Linked DNA regions of Homo sapiens: region 2 is linked to region 1. Evidence: promoter capture Hi-C in human tissues and cell types (Jung and others, 2019). All regions are on one chromosome and are shown on one strand. The core of a region is centred on a gene start or on the middle of the fragment in contact, and the rest is flanking DNA. Distances in the headings are between cores, read along the strand shown. Region 1 holds the start of ZNF222 (zinc finger protein 222). Region 2 has its middle 15 kb from the start of ZNF404.

Region 1 (4,184 bases), core at 1,160-3,659:
GGGCAGATCACAGGGTCTACAAAAGCCACTTAAAGAGGTTGTAACACTAATAAAAACAAGAAGCCAGAAAGGCTTTGAGCTGAGGAATGGCAATGTGACTTCCGTTTCCTACGGATCACTTTGGCTACCGTAAGAACAGATGGCAGGGTGGGAAGGGTGGGAGCAGGGGCATCAGCAGGGAGAAGGCTGTAATAATCCAGGAAACAGGTTTGGCCATTTACCCCAAAATGCTGGAAATGGGCATGGACAGAAGTAACAGGAATCACATGCAGGGACACACAATTGCTTGGTTCTTACCCAAATTCCCTTCTCTTTGGCTTGTTGTCCCCATCACCCAAAACTTTTCTTCCCTTAGGAAGTGGAAAGTATCTCCATGGAATGGTTGATGCCCTGTGAACAGGCAAAGTCACATGCTTAATCCCAACATGTTCAAGGTAATATCATGTTGGTGCAAACGTAATTGCAGTGTACCATTACTTCCAATGACAAAAACCACAATTACTTTTGCACCAACCTAATAGCCAGGCAAAATTTACTGGAAATGTAGGTTCTCACTGCACACTCAAACTTGAAAACCCTAGGATTAAAAAACCACTCCTGGGGCCTGACATTCCATTACAGGGGGTGCCCGTCCTCACCCACTGAGAGCAGGTTCCTGAAGTTCTCAAGCATCACATCTCGGTACAGCTTCCTCTGGGCAGGGTCCAGCAGCCCCAGCTCCTCCTCAGTGAAGATCACAGCCACATCCTTGAAGGTCACTGCCTCCTACAACATCAAGCAGATGTCACCTCAATCTTACGGCCAAAGACTATTGGGAGACAGCAGCATTGCACTGGCACAAGGGACAAGTGTAAAGTTGTTTTGGATCTTGAGAGACATAGGTCAGCTTATAGATTTCCTACTTATTCTGTTTGTGTCCTGACAATGACTGATTAGGCAATAGGGGTTTGGAATGGAGACTGCACACACCAGTCAACAGGGTGTGTCCTGAATAAATAGTGGGTAAAGGACATTTACTGAGATGCTATCTCTAACTCCACTTCAGGAAAGCTTGCTGCAGAGTTAGAGTGATATAGTCCAAATGCTCTGTTTGAGTCGCGGGCCCTTTGACGAAAATGAGACTGAGGCAGGAGAATCACTTGAACCCGAGAGGCGGAGGTTACAGTGAGCCAAGATTGCACCACTGCACTCCAGCCTAAGCAACAAGAGCGAAACTCTGTAAAAAAAAAAATATATATATATATAGAGAGAGAGAGAGAAAGAAAATAGTAGATAAGGTTAAAAAAATTAAAAAGCAAAAAGCAAACAAACAAAAACTCCTATAGAAGTCCAAGCCCCTGAGCCTTGCCTCAAGGTGCCTTCAATCAAGTCCTAACTTACGTTCTCCACCTGTTCCCAGCTAGTACCTCTGCCTCAATGAGAATTGCATTCAAGAGATGATCAACTCAGGCTCTAACCTGGACTGCCTAGGTTTCAACTCCTGCTCCACCTGTGTCTCACGCCCATCTTTAAAATGAAAAAAGCAGCACCTCTCCACAGTGCCACTGTGAAGATCATGTATTTTGGGGTATAAAGTACTTGGAATAAAGTTACCAATTAAGGCTTAATCATTATCGACACCCATGCCCGAGGGACAAATCCTACACACTCTCGGTTGAGGTAAGCATCTCTGTCAAAGAAAAAAAGCCAAGGATCACTCACGTAGAGCTTTGCCATCAGTAGCCAAGAAGTCCCTTCCTGCAGCTCTTTTAGAAAGGTCGGGCTGGGGAAAAAGAAAGCTGTGAAACACCCTGACCGTTTTGCCGTCCCCCATAAAAGTTAAATGCTCCCCTCACTTTCCTAAAAAGAGGTCAGAAGGCGTCAGGGATCATCCAGCGTCCTGCAGGGATCAGGCAGAAGGGCCGGCGCCCCTGCAGCTGGAGCTCTGACCCCACCAGAGGACCTGACAGGCTTCGTGGGAAATTAACAAGAGACCACCAGACACCGAGTGACAGGGACTGCTTTTAAGGCTCTCATTTGTGTTACCTCTTTCAGGTCCCAAAATGAATCCATTAGGATGGTCCGAAAAGTCCCGTTACAAAACAAACAAACAAACGAACCAGCAATGGAAGATAAACGGACATTAAGTGACACTCCACACCACACTGAAAGGGGCTGCACACGTAGGGAGGAGGGAGGCGGACTAAGCGAGGTCAAAGTAGGGCACACCGGGCCGCGCCAATCCCACTCCCTGAGACCCTAGCAGAGCCCCCCGACGCCAGAAGGCTCAGCTGACTGGAACGGCAATCCCCGCCCGCGCCCCTCCAAACCTCTGCTCTCCGCCCAGGCTTCTTTTCTCCTGAATCGATCATTGGGTGGTTGCGAGCCCCAAGGAAAGGAGACTCGTTCGGAAGGACTCGCAAGATGTGGAAATGACTCAAACTACTGTGGTAAATGAAATAGCAACGTCACAGTTGGGGACCGGAAGTGCTCGAGCCTCCACAGAGCGTGTGGACTCCACTTCCCAGAATTCCCCGGACTCGCCCGTGTGAGACAAAGGGCCCGCGACTCAAACAGAGCATTTGGACTATATCACTCTAACTCTGCAGCAAGCTTTCCTGAAGTGGAGTTGGAGATAGCATTTCAGTAAATGTCCTTTACCCACTGCTTATTCGGGACACACCCTGTTGACTGGTGCGTGCAGTCTCCATTCCAAACCACTATTGCCATTCCTATCGCTTCCATAAAGCCTAAGAAATCAAATATTTTCTTTCTCTGCCTTCATCTAGCTAGAAATTTTCATGGGACACAATTTTGGGAAGTGAGACATTAGGAGAAGTGAGCTGTCCTCTCCTGACAAGAAATGTGCTTGGCAGGCTGTGAGTACACGAGGAGTTGAAAGAGTAAAAAGGTGATCGTCTCAGTGGACTGTAGGTATTGGCGAGGTTCTAATATTACTGATGCTAGCATGCTGGTGGGACCAAGGTGGAAATACAAGTCAAAGTTGTTGGAGAGTAGTGCTGCAAATTATTATGGAGGAATATTTGCTAGAAAATGACGAGGTCTAAAATATGACCATGGGAGAGAGTGTCCCTTGATATTTCACATGAATCTCAGGTGGATTTTTTCATTTCTGAGAAAAATGTTACTGTGATTAAGGATTGCATTGAATCTATAGATATAGGTATTGACAGCCTTGCAATATCAAGTCGCCCAATCCATTAATAATGGATATATCTCCATTTATTTGCGCCTTCTTTAATTTTTTTTTTTTTTTTTTTGAGACAGAGTCTCACTCTGTCGCCCAAGCTGGAGTGCAGTGGCACAATCTTGGCTCACTGCAACCTCCGCCTCCTGAGTTCAAGCGATTCTCCTGCCTCAGCCTCCCAAGTAGCTGGGATTACAGGCACGTACCACCATACCTGGCCAATTTTTGTATTTTTAGTGAAGACAGGGGTTTCACCAGGTTGGCCAGGCTGATCTCGAACTCCTGGCCTCAAGTTATTCGCCTGCCTGGGCCTCACAAAGTGCTGGGATTACAGGCATAAGCCACCATGCCTGGGGTGCCTTCTTTAATTTTCTTTAGTAAGATGTTGCAAAATTCAGTGTCCAAGTGTTTCTTGTCATTGGTTAAGACAGTTCCTAAGTAATTTATTTATTTAATGCTATTGCAAAGGGAACTATTTTCCTTTTCAGATTAATTGTTTTTGTATAGAAATACAACTGCTTCTTCTATGTAGATATTTTTCCTGCAACTTTCTGACTTTACTAGCTCTAAGAGTTTTTTTTTCTTGTGAATTCTTTAGAATTTTTATATATAAGAACATGTCATTAGCATATAGACAATTTTACCTCTGTTTCCAATTTTAATAGCTTTATTTTCTTTTTCTATCTAATTGTTCTGCATAGAACTTCCAATACTACATTGACTAAATGTGGGAAAAGTGGAGAAAACTCATTGTGTTCCTGATATTAGAAGAAAAGCTTTCAGTCCTTCACCATTGAGTATGACAATCAGCTCTGAGAATTTCCATATATAGCCTTTATTTTGCTGGGGTAGTTTATTCTCCTTCTAGTTATTTGGTATTTCAATCATGAAAAGGTGCTAGGTGCTGAATTTTGTGAAACTGAATGTTCTGCATTCACTGACATGATGTGATTTATACCTTCCACTCTGCTCATGTGGAGTATTACATTGATATTTG
Region 2 (4,184 bases), core at 550-3,049, 160 kb after region 1:
TTTTTAAGGATTTCTTCTGGCTATAGAATTCTGGGTTGGCAGTTTTTTGGAGATATATGAATATATGTGTGTGTATATGCACACACACAAAGAATACACACACATATATATACTCATAAAGAGATATATATTGTTTCATATATGTATATATAAATCACCGACTTCTGGTCTTCAAGTCTCCATAGTTTACAAGAAGAAGTCATTTGAATTGTTTTTTCTCTTATGTAATGTGTCCTTTTTCTCTGGGTGCTTTCCAGATTTTCTTATTACTTTTGGTTTTCAGCTGTTTGAGTATGAGGTGCCTAGGTATGGTTTTCTTTGTGTTAATTCTGCTTGGGGTACTCTGAGCCTCTGAAATTTGCACACATGTGCCTTTCACCAAATTCCAGAAATTCTTGGCCATTATATCTTCAAATATTTTTTCTGCATTTACTCTACTCATACGTTAAATCTTTTGGTACTGTCCCACAGGTCACTGTCTTTGTTATTTATCTTCAGTATTTTTTTTCTGTTCTTCAGCTTGGACAACTTCTGTTACTCTGTTTTCAAATTCACTTATTCTTTTTCTCTGTCATTTCAGTTCTGCTGCTAAGCCTATCTATCAAATTGTTTAATTTCAGATATTACATTTTTCAGTTCTAGAATTTTCCTTTAGTACTTTTATAGTTCCTATTTCTTTACTAAGATTGCCTATTTCTTCATTGCATGCATCTTTTCACAAGGCTTTTCAGTCCTGTTAAAATCCTCTATATATTGATTCATGCTAGAAAAATATATAAAATCATTATTATGAACTTATACAGTGAAAAGTTTTCATTTCAATGAATGTTCCTATTATTTTCACTAGGTCACGAAAAAAAAGCTTTCCTTTCCTTGGAGTTTCAGATTTTGCTTATTCATATGCAATGTGATACTGGTGAGAAAAAAAATCACTGTCTTCTTTTTCCTTTATTATTAAATATTTGGAAAACTTTCTTTAAAGAAAATCTTGAACTGGAGTTCAAAGTACGAGAAATCTTTGTAAATGTCTTACACCATTAAACAGATGAGCATTGGGAAAGAACATAAGATTAATTGTTCTCTATTTCTTTTTTGTTTTGTTTTGTTATGTTTTTTTGAGACGGAGTCTCACTCTATCACCTAGGCTGGAGTGCAGTGGCGCGATCTCGGCTCACTGCAAGCTCCGCCTCCCAGGTTCATGCCATTCTCCTCAGCCTCCCGAGTAGCTGGGACTACAGGTGCCCACCACCACACCTGGCTAATTTTTTGTAGTTTTAGTAGAGACGGGGTTTCACCGTGTTAGCCAGGATGGGCTTGATCTGCTGACCTCATGATCGCCCCCCTCAGCCTCCCAAAATGCTGGGATTACAGGCGTCAGCCACCAAGCCTGACCTCTATTTCTTTTAACAGTTCCATGAAGTAGTCGTGATTCATAATATTTACATGTATATACTTCATAGGTATATTCTTTATACAGTAGAGCAAAGCAGTTAGGGAGACATCAGTCTCTTGCATTAAAATTCCAAGGAATTCAGATTTTTAACCTAATACAGCTGGTGTATCATCTATTGTGATAGAAATATTTTTTGATACCTAACAGAAATTTTTCTTTGACAGATATAAAAGACAAAAATATCTATGTCATGACTCTGGTTTTGTAGGCTGCGAATTGACAGCTTTTTTTATTTGGGGATCTTTTGAGACAAAATGTACCCACAGTATCAATTGGGCTAAATTATCTTATATTGCACAACTCATATATGGCTAAAGAAGAGTACTTGAAGCTTTTGCTAACTTTGAATTAATTGATCCATGATATTGTTAGAAATATCTTGTATTCTATGAGCAGTTTTTAGGTGACTTAATTTTTTTTTACTTTTTATAAGATCATTTTAGTCTTTCTCAGAATATGCTAACAAGATTTTTGCAACCAAACTAATAATTTATCTTATCTCTATATCCAACATTTCTTTTTTGTGCAAGAATCAGAGCCATTTTATAGCTCAAAAAGGTTATAAACTCAGATTCTGTTTAAAAATTGTTTAAATATTTTGGTTGGACATTTAATTCTAATTTCAGGCAACTAACTTCATCTATTCCATTTTGCTTCTCAAGAGAAAACGTCTCATCAAATTTACTATGTATTTGCTGAAAATGTTTCACAATATTTTTCTCTTTAACAATTTAATTTGTTATGTAATAAACAGCTTTTTTTTTTTGCTCTCTCACAGCAAATTGCAATTGACATTCATCATGAAATTCATAGTATATTATCTTCCAGGCTCATTTTTTACAATTCTGACCATAGTACTGGTCTCCACTCAATTCTGTGTAATATGCCTTCATTTATTTTAAATTTTAAATTTTGTCCATACTTACTTTTCAACCTAGAATAATAATTTAATTATAAAGTACTAAGTATTTCCATTTAATTACTAATAATTATTTCCTTAGTATCACTGTAACTCTTCTTCTTTTTGAAGTATTCAAATAAATACATCAAGGCAGGGCACAATGGCTCACACCTGTAATCTCAGCATTTGGAAGGCTGAGGCAGGCGGATCACTTGAGGCCAGGAGTTCTTGGCCCGGCCAACATGGCAAAACCCCGACGTTACTAGAAATACAAAAATTAGCCTGGTGCAGTGATGCATGCCTGTAATCCCAGCTCCTCAGGAGGCCGAAGCACAAGAATTGCTTGAACTTGGGAGGCGGAGGTTGCAGTGAGCCGAAATGGTGCCACTGCCCTCCAACCTGGGCAACAGAGTGAGCTCTTGTCAAAAACAAAAAATAAAACAAAAAAAAAAACCCAGAGCTAATACTTTCCATGAATGTTTCCACGTAAGGACTCATCCCCAACTCATCAAAAATTCAGAGTATCTGCAACAGGAAGACACTTACAGAACATTTCCATCATTCCTAAAAGTTCTCTCTTGCTTCTTATCTTTCATTCTCCTAAGGCTACTGTTGTTCTGATTTCTATTACAATTAATGTGTTTTACCTTATCTTGATCTTCATGTAAATGGAATCATACATTATGAATACTACTATTCCTTAATTCTTTCATTCAATAGAAAAATTTGAGATTCTGCTATGTTATTCCTTAGATTAGTAGTTTATAGCTTTTTACTATTTAGTAATATTCAAGGTATGAATATACCATAGTTTATTCATCTGTTCTTCTATTGATGGATTTTTGAATAGTTTGCAGGAATTTTTTTATTATAAAATCTCTCCAAATAGATTTTTTAAGATAAAAAATTATTTCCCTCATTGATTTGCATAGGTGACTCTTATAAATCAATTGGTTGTATATATTTGGAATTATTTCTGGAGCCTGTCTTCTGTTACACTGATATATTTAACTTTCCTTATACAAATACTACACTCTATGAAATAGCTTTATATTAAGCTTTGAAACAAGGTAAGCTAAATATCCCAAAGTTTTGAAGATGGCCGAATAGGAACAGCTCCGGTCTACCGCTCCCAGCGTGAGCGTCGCAGAAGACGGTGATTTCTGCATTTCCATCTGAGGTACCGGGTTCATCCCACTAGGGAGTGCCAGACAGTGGGCGCAGGTCAGTGGGTGCGCGCACCGTGCGGGAGCAGAAGCAGGGCGAGGCAATGCCTCACTTGGGAAGTGCAAGGGGTCAGGGAGTTCCCTTTCCAAGTCAAAGAACGGAGTGACGGATGGCACCTGGAAAATCGGGTCACTCCCACCCGAATACTGCGCTTTTCCGGCGGGCTTAAAAAAACGGCGCACCACGAGATTATATCCCGCACCTGGCTCGGAGGGTCCTACACCCACGGAGTCTCGCTGATTGCTAGCACAGCAGTCTGAGATCAAACTGCAAGGCGGCAGCGAGGCTGGGGGAGGGGCGCCTGCCATTGCCCAGGCTTGATTAGGTAAACAAAGCAGCCGGGAAGTTCGAACTGGGTGGAGCCCACCACAGCTCAAGGAGGCCTGCCTGCATCTGTAGGCTCCACCTCTGGGGGCAGGGCACAGACAAACAAAAAGATAGCAGTAACCTCTGCAAACTTAAAATGTCCCTGTCTGACAGCTTTGAAGAGAGCAGTGGTTCTCCCAGCACGCAGCTGGAGATCTGAGAACGGGCAGACTGCCTCCTCAAGTGGGTCCCTGACCCCTGACCCCCAAGCAGCCTAACTGGGAGGCACCCCCCAGC

Evidence for each region. The method cuts DNA at HindIII sites, captures the fragments that hold promoters and counts their contacts. A contact is called where the count stands out against the background at its distance.
Region 2: a fragment that was not itself captured here is called in contact with the fragment with the promoter of ZNF222 in region 1 in 3 of the 25 tissues and cell types used here (adrenal gland, dorsolateral prefrontal cortex and pancreas).

Annotation. Positions count from the first base shown.
Region 1 is chr19:44,023,604-44,027,787 of GRCh38, reverse strand. It overlaps ZNF222 (zinc finger protein 222), which reads right to left and starts at 2,409. Exons shown (of 4, transcript NM_001129996.2): 1 at 2,310-2,409; 2 at 639-765; 3 at 298-390. The coding sequence starts at 2,351. ZNF222-DT (ZNF222 divergent transcript) reads left to right here and starts at 2,506. Exons shown (of 3, transcript NR_184028.1): 1 at 2,506-2,673; 2 at 2,769-2,890; 3 at 3,889-4,184. RefSeq lists enhancers at 2,114-2,163, 2,394-2,443. The HindIII fragment of the contact is 3,057 bases long and covers 222-3,278 here.
Region 2 is chr19:43,866,566-43,870,749 of GRCh38, reverse strand. No RefSeq gene overlaps it. Among named protein-coding and RNA genes, the nearest start is that of ZNF404, 15 kb to the left of the region's middle. The HindIII fragment of the contact is 5,020 bases long and covers 1-4,184 here.